Linked DNA regions of Homo sapiens: region 1 is linked to region 2. Evidence: promoter capture Hi-C in human tissues and cell types (Jung and others, 2019). All regions are on one chromosome and are shown on one strand. The core of a region is centred on a gene start or on the middle of the fragment in contact, and the rest is flanking DNA. Distances in the headings are between cores, read along the strand shown.

Region 1 (6,122 bases), core at 35-2,534, 270 kb after region 2:
CGGACGCTCGCTGGGCTGCACTCAGCAGGCTGCTTGAGTGGGAGCTGACTCCAACATGCCCTGCCCTGGCTGGGACTAGGCATGCTTCCAGCCCTTCCCGTGCTCTCCCTGCTGTCAACACTTGCGTACAAACCTGCCTAGCTGTTGTAAGTTTTCATCAGTAGCTTAAGTACTAGTAGCAAAAACTTAAATTCATTCAGAAAGTTGCCACTTCTGAATGAGTAGAGCAGGAAAAGTAAACTTTACTGAAACATAATTTGCTGCAACAGTCAACATTGTTATGCTGAATGTGCTCTCAACTGCCCTTTGCTCATCGCCAGATTTATTATCCAGTGTATTCCTAACAGTCTTTTGTTGTCGTTGTTTTTAAAACAAAGGTACGGACCATGTGCTATATATAAATCGAATGGCTTAAACTAATTTGCTATGATCCTCTAACACCGAAATTTCCCATAAACTTAAGTGCCTACACTTAGGACTTTTGAACTTTCAGTCATCTTTTTCGTGGTGTCTCACTGAACGATGTGTTAGAACATGTGTTCCATTTGGAGTTTTGGGCCTGTGCACGGTCAACCCCAATTACCAATTTAGTTGAGGCTGGATTCGATTGCTCAGTTCACCTGCCACGTTCTCTCCAAGGAGTGGGGTCTACGTGACCTTTAGTCCTCTACCTCAGAGCCCCGAGTCATTTCTGACCACCCCGTTCTGTGTCCTCACTCTTGTCCCTGAATGGGTCCCTGTGTGGATCTCAGTGTGTGTGTGGTTTCTCCACTCCTCCCCGCTCATGTCCCACACCTGCCATATTGAACCGTTTCTGCACTAATCTTCTCCACGGGCACGGAGTGGAGGGAACGTCTTGGGAAAGGGGAGAGCTTGACCTCCATCTAGGTTTCTTTTATCTGGAGAAAAAGAACACTTTTGAACTATGTAATGCTTCACCCTGAAAGGCAAGCTAACGCTAACTTCCCAGGTGACAGTAGCAGGAACAAGGAAGGGTAATGTTTCCATGACAGACACTTGCTTCCCTTGGGACAAGTCCCAGAAGAACTACCTGAAGCACCAAAGCTCCCCACCCCAGCCTGGTGGCAGAGGAAGCAGGTGGCACCAACTCACCAAAGGGACTTGGGAGCCACCTTCTCACTCTGTGGAAGTACTTTAGTGAGAGCTGACTGGCAAGATAAAAACCCTGAAATTCCCAGAAGTTACAGATGCCTTAAAGACTTTCTTTGGAAGATCATTGCCTGTACTATTCCTTTTTTGTGTGGCATAAATAATATATTAACCTGTTACAACTGACAACATTGGTTTTCTGCAGCTAGGGAGTCTTGAGTCGAGACTGCTCGCCTTGATGACTTGCTCTTTTTTGGCAGATGTGTGGAGTTGGCTGTTACGACATCCCTGTGTGATCCCAGAGGAGGGGCAGTAGCTGGGCAGAAACTGCAGGCACACATTTGGGTGGATCACCTGGCTTCCAGCCCCTTCGGGGTGGTGCTCAGTGTGGGGTGATGGTATCATAGAGGACCACGGCGCTTATCAGCATTGTTTCTTTGGAGTCTGTGTAATGGAATGTATTTTTCAAATACTGATATTTGCATTTTCTGTAACAATTCCTTATAATAAAATGAAGTAAAATTGTGCATTTAAAGTGGAAACTTTAATAAGACATTTGTAGTTACTTCTAATGCAGAAGTACCAATAAGCATTAAAAACAAATTTTAGAAAACTCCTGACGTGAATAAGTTTCTTGACCAGCTGCCCTCCAGAAAGTTTGAATTCCAACATTTTTCAGGAACATGCTGTTGACAGCAGTAAAAGTAGCTATTTTATGTATGTATTTTTAATTTTTAAAAGTTTCAGTAGGTTTTTGGGGTTCAGGTGGTGTTTGGTTACGTGAGGTTCTTTAGCGGTGATTTCCAGGATTTTGGGGCACCCATCACCCAAGCAGTGTACACTGGACCCTTTTATCCCTCACCCCAACCCTTTCCCCTGAGCCCCCAAAGTCCACTGTATCATTCTTAATGCCTTTACGTCCTCATGGCTTAGCTCCCGAAAAGTAGTTATTTTAAACATACTAGCTGCCTGAACTTACTGTGCCCTTGGCCCAGATTTCAGCTCATAGCACCGAGCGTGATCACTGAGGCAGTCTCAGTCACCGTCACCTGACCCCTCTGAAGTTCTCAAGAGGATCCACTCATGAGGAGCTTTCTGCTGGCCGAGGCGTGAAGGGCGACTGGCACTGTGGGTTTCAGAGAATGCTAAGGACAGTTTCAGGCCTTGCAAATTAAAACCTAGTGATCCATAAAGCCCCTGTACAAATCACTACCAATCAAGCAGCTCACGTGGCCCTCACGCTGTCCTGAGCAAATGTATTCCCTTTTTCCTGTCTTCCATTTTGCTTACCCCTAGGTCAGACTAGCTGTGGTGATTGATAGAGCTCATAAAGCTCATTCTCCAGTGGCTTTTCTCCTAGTTAATATGCATGTGAAGTGTTTCCACAGGACAATCCCAAGTAATCCTCACAGCTGCCCTTGAGGCGAACAGTGCTAACCACGCTGTCACTGGTTATGATAAGCGAAGCACAAACAGTAACCAGGCACATCAACTTCCACACGTTTGCCCAGCCAGGGAGAGCACTGGGTTTTAGTTCTGCTTTTTTATTCATGAGCTGAGAGTTCTGGGCGAGTTTCCTAACTTCTTTGCCTCTGTTTCCCTATCTACATAATGGGGGCGGGACTGTAGTCCTTAACTGACAGGGTTGCCTGGAGGAAGGTGATCAGTAATGTGTCCTTCTCATCCAAGTACCCGGATTCTGGTGTGTGCACCGCAGGCTCTTCTGGCAGTATCTGCTGCCACCGGAAGAAATCTGGGGGCTCTGGCAGTAGGAAGTACTCTCAAGGCTAGGGTCCAGCCTAGGGTTGTTGCCCTTCTCTGAGGCACCCACAGACTTCTGAGCAGGCACAGTCCTAACCTCCCCATTGGGGCCAGCTTTCAGAGTACAGCTTTGCCTAGAGCAAAGTGAGTGTGGGGCGGGGCGGGGGTCACGCAGTGGCTCAGCTGTGACCAAAAAACGTCAGACTCTTCACTCTTAGATGTTTATAGAAAACTGTAATCTCAGAATGAAAAGGCAAATGTTGAAACTTCTTTCAAGATGACTTCTTTATTTTTGGGTTTTGTTTGTTTGTTTTGGGAGAGTCTCTCTCTGTCGCCCAGGCTGGAGTGCAGTGGTGTGATCTCGGCTCACTGCAGCCTCCACCTCCCCAGTAGCTAGGACTGCAGATGCGTACCACCACACCCAGCTAATTTTTGTATTTTAGTAGAGATGGGGTTTCACCATGTTGGCCGGGCTGGCCTCCATCGAACTCCTGGCTTCAAGAGATCCGCCCACCTTGGGCTCCCAAAGTGCTGGGATTATAAGCGCCCGGCCTCCTTCACAATGTTGGAGTGGAGTGCAGCTGCAAAGGCTTTGCCTTGACACTGTGCTCACTGGTGTGGCAGAGATCAGACTCGCATCACAAAGCCCAGCTCTGTCACCCGACGGTTGATGTAACTATTAGAAGAGGTGGGGAGATATTTATGCCCCTTTTCTGGGCCATAAAATGGGAACTTCTCAAGGCAGGCATAGAGATTAAATGAGAACAAGGCCTGGCCCAGCATAGTTGCCCAATATGTATGTTTTCTCCTTCCCTTCCTTCTGCCAGCAAGTCTAACTGCATGCTCAGCCTAAGCTGAGCTTATCTGTGGCTTCCATCAGGGCCTTGCCCTTCCTCCCCCATGGTTTTGCCCAGGGCCACCTGTACTGGAGAGGGAAAGGCCAGGCATTTCTCCAGTAATTACCAGCTTCTCATGGCTGAGCCCTTCAGGCCATTAAAATGACAACCTACTCTTGCTGAACCTAATTCTTTGCTGAATCCTTTGCCCTGACATGAGAGATGTGTTACCAGATTAAGTAGGAAGGTAAGTACCATAAGGTAAGTATCAAAAAGGAAATGAATTCTCAACTGAGCAAGGAACAGAGCAGGCTGCTGAAGCCAGCCAAGTCTGTCCTGGAGCCTGCACGCAGGGCTCTTGCATCAGTCAGAGATCAGGTACCCTCTAGGCACGGCCAGAGCCCGCAGCTGGCTGGAATGACTAATGCTCCTTTTTGTTTGTTTGTTTTTTGAAGGATCAGAACATCTTGGGACCTGGCCCTCACACTCTCCCTGCATTCCTACCGCAAGGACAGCCTCTGGCTGCTCTACTGGGTTTATTCCACCATACTATAAGCCCCCTGAGGTCGGAAGCCTTGCTTCCTCGACCACCCAACCCTAACGTGATGCCTGGCACATAGTAGGTTCTTGGTAAGTTATTTGCTGAATGACTAAGGAGGACTAAATCATGGGCAGTAACTAGTTTCCAGTTAGCATGGAGTTGGGGGCTGTTTCTGGTTAATAGAGAAGTCTCAGCACTGAGCTCAGGGACTGCCTAGAACTCAGAAGAAAATCCTAATTTCAGCTCTTCTTTCTGTCTGCTCCTGGTCCTGCCCCAGGGAGGGCAGAGACATACAGAAATATGGAGGAGTGAAAATGGCACCGAATCAGGCATCCAGAGCTTTGAGTTCTAGGCTCAGGTCCATGCTCAGTGACTTAAGTTCTATGTGCCTTTATTGCCTTATCTCCAAAAAGTGCGGTGGCTCACGCCTGTAATCCCAGCACTTTGGGAGGCCGAGGTGGGCAGATTGCTTGAGCCCAGGAGTTGGAGACCAGGCTGGGCAACAAGGTAAAACCCCATCTCTACAAAAATAAAAAACTAGCCGGGCATGCTGGTACGTGCCCATCATCCCAGCTACTCGGGAGGCTGAAGTGGCAGAATCTTTTTGAGCCCGGGAGGTCAAGGCTGCAGTGAGCTATGATCACGCCACTGCACTCCAGCCTGGGCAACAGAGTAAGACCCTGTCTCAAAAAAAGAAACAACTCTGCACGAACTTCCCACACGCTAGGTGCGGTGGATATAGGGGTACAGCGCTGAGTAAAGTGGATTATAGGGGCATGGTGCTGAGTCACGTGGATATAGGGGTGAGGAGCTGAGTCACATGGATATGGGGTAAGGCTCTGAGTCATGTAGATATAGGGGTACAGCGCTGAGTAATGTGGATTATAGGGGTACGGCACTGAGTAAAGTGGATTATAGGGGTACGGAGCTGAGTTGCGTGAATGTAGGGGTACAGCGCTGAGTTGTGGATATAGGGGCACAGAGCCGAGTCGTGGATATCGGGGTATGGAGCCGAGTCGTGGATACAGGGGTACGGCGCTGAGTCATGTGGATACAGGGGTACGGAGCTGAGTCATGTGGATTATAGGGGTACGGAGCTGGGTCGTGGATATAGGGGTACGGAGCTGAGTCATGTGGATTATAGGGGTACGGAGCTGAGTCATGTGGATATAGGGGTACGGAGCTGAGTCGTGGATATAGGGGTACGGCGCTGAGTCATGTGGATTATAGGGGTACAGAGCTGAGTCATGTGGATATAGGGGTACGGCGCTGAGTCATGTGGATATAGGGGTACGGCGCTGAGTCATGTGGATATAGGGGTACGGACAGTCGTGGATTATAGGGGTACAGAGCTCAGTCATGTGGATATAGGGGTACATAGCTGAGTCATGTGGATATAGGGGTACGGAGCTGAGTCATGTGAATATAGGGGTACGGAGCTGAGTTGTGGATATAGGGATATGGAGCTGAGTCGTGGATATAGGGGTACGGAGCTGAGTCATGTGGATATAGGGGTATGGAGCTGAATCACACTGGGGCTCTGTCCTCAGAGTGTCTGAGGTCCAGTGCAAGAGGTTGATAGGAAGTTCATGGTAAGAGCCCACTGTGATATGAGCACAGCCATGGAGCAGGGAAAGTGCGTCTATAGCTCACTGCTGGCCCAACAGTTAATGAAGGCTCCCAAGAGGGGCCTGATTGAGCTGAATATTGAAGCAATACGGGGTGGATTAATTCAACGGAGGAAGAAGCGTCATTCCAGGCAAAAGAAACAGCTTGTGTGAAGGCACTGCAGACATAACGCAGTGAGAGGGAGGCTGGACAGGAGGTGCACATGGGAGGAGATGGGAAAGGTACAGGCCTAAGAGGAGAGAGGC
Region 2 (6,091 bases), core at 427-2,926:
AGGCTACCCTGTCCTCCACCTAGAACCTGGGGGCCTCTGCCTGGAAGTCCTGCCTGCTGTCCTCACCCACCCACCCCTCATTATGTCTCTGGCCCCACCCCCACTGTGCCCTCCCTTAATTTTTAAAAAATATTTATTTATTTATTTATTTTTTATTTTTTATTTTTTTTTTTTTGAGACAGAGCCTTGCTCTGTCGCCCAGACTGGAGTGCAATGGTGGGATCTTGGCTCAATGGTGGGATCTCGGCTCACTGCAACATCCACCTCCCAGGTTCAAGCAATTCTCTGCCTCAGCCTCCCCAGTAGCTGAGATTACAGGTGCCCGCTACCATGCTCGGCTAATTTTTGTAGTTTTAGTAGAGACGGGGTTTCACCATGTTGCCCAGGCTGGTCACAAAGTCCTCACTTCAAGTGATCCGCCCACCTTGGCCTCCCACAGTGCTGGGATTACAGGCCTGAGCCACCGCACCCAGCCCTAAAATATTTTTAATTTTTTAAATAGAGACAGAGTTTCGGCTGGGCGCAGGGGCTCATGCCTATAATCCCAACACTTTGGGAGGCCGAGGCAGGCGGATCACCTGAGGTCTGGAGTTCGAGACAGCCTGGCATACACGGCAAAACCCCGTCTCTACTAAAAATACAAAAACTAGCCTGGCATGGTGGTATGCGCCTGTAGTCCCAGCTACTCGGGAGGCTGAGATAGGAATCGCTTGAACCTGGGAGGCAGAAGTTGCAGTGAGCCGAGATCGCGCCACTGCACTCCAGCCTGGGCAACAGATTGAGACTCTGTCTCAAGAAAAAAAAAAAAGGCCGGGCACGGTGGCTCATGCCTGTAATCCCAGCACTTTGGGAGGCCGAGGCGGGTGGATCACCTGAGGTCAGGAGTTCGAGACCAGCCTGACTAGCATGGTAAAACCCCGTCCCTACTCCTCCTCTACTCAAAATACAAAAATTAGCCGGATGTGGTGGTGCACGCCTGTAATCCCAGCTACTCGGGAGGCTGAGGCAGGAGAATCACTTGAACCTGGGAGACAGAGGTTGCAGTGAGCTGAGATTGCGCCACTACACTCCAGCCTGGGCGACAGAGCGAGACTCTGTCTCAAAAAAAAAAATAAATAAATAGAGACAGAGTCTCACTATGTTGTCCAGGTTGGTCTCAAACTCCTGGGCTCAAGCAATCTTCCTGCCTCAGCCTCCCAAAGTGCTGGAATTACAAGCGGGAGCCACCATGCCCAGCCTGTGTCCCTTCTTAGTTGAGGCTGGATTGGGAACATCAGTTGGTCCTCCCCGATTCGAGCACAGCTGAAAACCACCTCTAGAGGTGAGAACACCAGAGATGGGCCCAGGAGCAGAAAGATGGGTGATGGCTGGAAGGCCACCATGGATCTGCAGCCCCTGGCTGGTGGGCACAGCAGCAGGTACTGCCCAGGGTAGCCATCCCCTCCTCACCTGCAATGATGAACCAGTTCATGTAATTCAGGAGGTTGATGTAGCAGAGGACGGCGGCAGCCACGTAGGCCCTCCACGGGGGCAGGCTCCAGGAGGTGGGCGTGATGGGAGGGGGACACTGCCTGCCTGGCCCTGGGGACTGGCCCTGCAGACCTCCTGGCCCAGGCTCAGGGCACTCCGCTGACATCCCCCCAGCCATGCCAGCCTGCAGCTCTTGGCCTGAGACTGGCGCCAGGATGAAGCAACATTAGCTCAGCACGAAGTCACTTCCTGTGGGGTCCCAGGCTCCAAACCTCAAAGCACCTGCCCTAACTGTTGGGCGTCTTATCGCAGGTTCCTCCTGACCCCACGGCAGCTTCACCAGTGCGATTTCCCCATCGTCAGCCTCTGAGACCTGCTACGGAGGACAAGGGCTCCTGGCACCCCCACCCTGGGGACTGGACAACTCTGTGGTCCCCTTGATCTAGCCTGCAGCTTCAGTGGCTGCAGTGAGGAAGGGAAGCTTCCAGGGCAGGAAATGAGATGAGCCTCCCAGAGTGCTGCTTGCTGTGAGATGGTCTAGCTGCCCGTACGGGACTGTGAACCAATGCCTTGAAGCCGGGGCAAATGAGGAAGGCTGGGCATTGGCCAGGACAGCAGCATTGCACTCGACTGCCAGGCAGGATGAGCACCTACCCAGGATCTAAGGTCCTTCCCGGAAAAACAAAGGTAGCAGAGGGGGCTGCCTACAAGAAGACAGCCTGTGTGCAAAACTCATCAGTGGGGGCTAAATCTGGGGGGAAGACTTCAGTGAGGGGGGAGGGTGTCAGCACGGTCACGAAGCATCTCTTGATAGATTGCTTATTAGTAACAAAAGGAAAAAGAGTAACTATACAGTAGAGGAATCAGACATCTTGACCAAGGGGTTAAAATAAATCACCTGTGAGAGGCAGGAGGGTGTCGTGTGCCTCCAGATGTGAAGGTCTTCGCAGGTCACAGCATCATCTATGTGGCATTCCAGCCAGGAAGGCACAACCGGAATCTCATCATGAGAAGACATCAGCCAGACGCGGTGGCTCGCACCTGTAATCCTAACACTGGGAGGCCAAGACAGGAGGATCATCCAAGCCCAGAAGTTTGTGACCAGCCTGGGCAACATGGTGAAACCCCATTGCTACAAAAATACCAAAAAAATAAAAAATTTTAAAAAAAAATAGCCGGGTGTAGTGGTGTGCGTCCACAGTCCCAGCTACTTGGGAGGCTGAGGTAGGAAGGATCGCCTTAGCCTGGGAAGTCGAGGCTGCAGTGAGCCATGTTCGTGCCACTGCACTCCAGGCTGGGTGACAAAGCAAGACCCCAACTCAAAAAAAAAAATTTTTTTTTTAATTTTTAAAATGAAAAAACATCAGACAAGCCCAAATTGAGAAACACTATTTCTTTAAAGGGACTGTATATTGAAAAATGTCAGAGTCATGAAAGACTAAGAAAGACTGAGGGAGCTAGGCGTGGTGGCTCACGCTTGTTATCCCAGCACTTTGGGAGGCCGAGGCAGGTGGATCACCTGAGGTCGGGAGTTCAAGATCAGCCTGACCAATGTGGAGAAACCCCGTCTCTACTAAAAATACAAAACTAACTAGGCATGGTGGCAGGTGCCTGTAATCTCAGCTACTCGGGAGGCTGAGGCAGGAGAATTGCTTGAACCCGGGAGGCACAGGTTGTGGTGAGCCAAGATCACGCCATTACACTCCAGCCTGGGCAACAAGAGCAAAACTCTGTCTCGAAAAAAAAAAAATATTCTGAGGGACTGTTTTGGATTAAAAGCAACAAAGAGACAAGATAGGCCAGGCGCGGTGGCTCATGCCTGTAATCCCAGCACTTTGGGAGGCCCAGGCGGGCGGATCACGAGGTCAGGAGTTCGAGACCAGTCTGGCCAACATAGTGAAACCCTGTCTCTACTAAAAATACACAAAAAAGTAGCTGGGTGTGGTGGTGTGCACCTGTAGTCCCAGCTACTCAGGAGGCTGAGGCAGGAGAATCATGTGAACCCGGGAGGCAGAGGTTGCAGTGAGCCAAGATCGTGCCACTGCACTCTAGCCTGGGTGACAGAACAAGACTCCGTCTCAAAAAAAAAAAAAAAAAAAAGAGAGACAAGACAATAAGACAATTAAGAGCAGTACAGGATCCCAACCTCGCTCCTGTACTGGATCAACTGATAAAACTGGATCAGGAAGAAATAGCATATCAGCATCTGTGAACTATGGTTATGTAAGTAAATAAGTAAATATCCTTATCTGAAGTATCTAGAGGTACAGGGCCATGATTTATGCCACTCATTCTCAAACGGTTCAGGAAAAAATATTAGATATGTATAGTAAGAAAACAAATGGGGCAAATATTAATAATAGATGAATCTGGGTAAAGATTATAAGAGTTTCTTTACGCTATATGATAAACTTTCTATAAGTTATAAATTATATCTAAACAAAAAGTTAAAGCATAAAATGACAAACCAATTTAAAAATGGGTGAAGAGCCGGGCATAGTGGCATGGACCTGTAGTCCCAGCTACTCTGGAGGCTGAGGTGGAAGGATCACTTAAGCCTGGGAGGTTGAGGCCACAGTGAGCTATAATCATGCCACTGTACTCCAGCTTGGGCAACAGAGTGAGATCCCATCTCTAAAGAAAAAAAACATCAGGGGGACAAAAATGGGCCAAGGAGTTGAACAGACATTTCTCTGAAGATATACAGGTGACCGACAAGCACATAAAAAGATGTTCAGGCTGGGCACAGTAGCTCACGCCTGCAATCCCAGCACTTTAGGAGGCTCAGGTGGGTGGATCACAAGGTTGGGAGTTCGAGACCAGCCTGGCCAACATAGTGAAACTCCATATCTACTAAAAATACAAAAATTAGCTGGGCGTGGTGGCATGTGTCTGTAATCCCAGCTATTTAGGAGGCTGAGGCAGGAGAACTGCTTGAACCCGGGTGGCAGAGGTTGCGGTGAGCTGAGATCACACCACTGCACTCTAGCCTGGGTGACAGAGCGAGACTTCATCTCGGGGGAAAAAAAAAAAAAGAAAGAAAAATGTTCAACATCACAAGTCATTAGGAAAATGGCAGATTGAAGCCACCATAAGATATCAGTTCGTACCCACTAAGACGGCTATAATTTTAAAAAGAGAGAGAGAGGAAATAACAAATGTTGGTGGAGAGATTGAAAGCCTCATGCATTGCTGGGAATGTGGAGTAAGGCAGCCGCAGTGGAACAAAGTTTGGCAGTTCCTCCAAAGGTTAAACATAAAATTACCATATGGCCCTGCAATTCCAATCCTAGGTATATATCCAAAAGAACTGAAAACAGGCCAGGTACAGTGGCTCACACCTGTAATCCCAGCACTTTGGGAGGCCGAGGCAGGTGGATCACGATGTCAGGAGTTCAAGACCAGCCTGGCGAAGACAGTGAAACCCTGTCTCTACTAAAACTACAAAAAAATTATCCAGGCACGGTGGCAGGCGCCTGTAATCCCAGCTACTCGGGAGGCTGAGGCAGGAGAATCACTTGAACCCAGGTGGCAGAGATTGCAGTGAGCCTACATTGCACCACTGCACTCCAGCCCGGGTGACAGAGTAAGACTCTGTCTCAAAAAAAAAAAAAAAAAAAAAAAGAATTGAAAACAAAGACTATTTTGAGCCTCTAATCTCAGCACTTTGGGAGGCCAAGGCAGACGGATCGCTTGAGGTCAAGAGTTCAAGGCTGGGCGCGGTGGCTCACACCTGTAATCCCAGCACTTTGGGAGGCTGAGGCAGGTAGATCACAAGGTCAGGAGATCGAGACCATCCTGGCTAACACGGTGAAACCCTACCTCTATTAAAAATACAAAAAGTTAGCTGCGCATGGTGGCGGGCGCCTGTAGTCCCAGCTGCTCAGGAGGCTGAGGCATGAGAATGGCATGAACCCAGGAGGCGGAGCTTACAGTGAGCCAAGATCACGCCACTGCACTCCAGCCTGGGCGACAGGGTGAGATTCCATCTCAAAAAAAAAAAAAAAAGAGTTTGAAATCAACCTGACCAACATGGTGAAACCCCGTCTTTACTAAAAAATCCAAAAAATTTAGCTGGGCATAGTGGCACACACCTGTAGTCCCAGCTACTCGGGAGGCTGAGGCATGACAATTGTTTGAACCCTGGAGGGAGAGGTTGCAATGAGCCAAGATGGGACCACTGTACTCTAGCTGGGGCAACAGAGCAACTTTGTCACTCTGTCTCAAAAAAAGAAAAAAAAAAAAGAAAAGAAAAGAAAACAAAGACTCAAACAAATACTTGTACATAAATGTTCATGGCAGCACTGTTCATAACAGCCAAAAGGTGGAAACAGCTTAAACGCCCATCTGATAAATGGGTCAAGAAAATGTGGCATAATCATACAATGGAATAGTATCCAGTCATAAAGAGGAAGGAAGTACTGATTCATGCTACAACACGGATAGACCTTAAAAACATTATGCTGGCTGGTCACAGTGGCTCACGCCTGTAATCCCAGCACTTTGGGAGCCCGAGGCAGACAGATCACCTGAGGTCAAGAGTTTGAGACCAGGCTGATCAACAAGGTGAGACTCCATCTCTACTAAAAATACAAAAATAATCCGGGTGTGGTGGCACCGC

The links. Contacts are between HindIII fragments. The study calls those that stand out against the background at their distance.
Region 1: a contact is called between a fragment that was not itself captured here and the fragment with the promoter of SPNS3 in region 2, in 1 of the 25 tissues and cell types used here (H1 embryonic stem cells).

The regions. Positions count from the first base shown.
Region 1 is chr17:4,159,422-4,165,543 of GRCh38, reverse strand. ANKFY1 (ankyrin repeat and FYVE domain containing 1) reads left to right here. Exons shown (of 25, transcript NM_001330063.2): 25 at 1-1,723. Among named protein-coding and RNA genes, the nearest start is that of CYB5D2, 19 kb to the right of the region's middle. The HindIII fragment of the contact is 4,737 bases long and covers 1-3,652 here.
Region 2 is chr17:4,429,525-4,435,615 of GRCh38, reverse strand. It overlaps SPNS3 (SPNS lysolipid transporter 3, sphingosine-1-phosphate (putative)), which reads right to left and starts at 1,676. Exons shown (of 12, transcript NM_182538.5): 1 at 1,450-1,676. The coding sequence starts at 1,648. RefSeq lists an enhancer at 960-1,614. The HindIII fragment of the contact is 23,733 bases long and covers 1-6,091 here.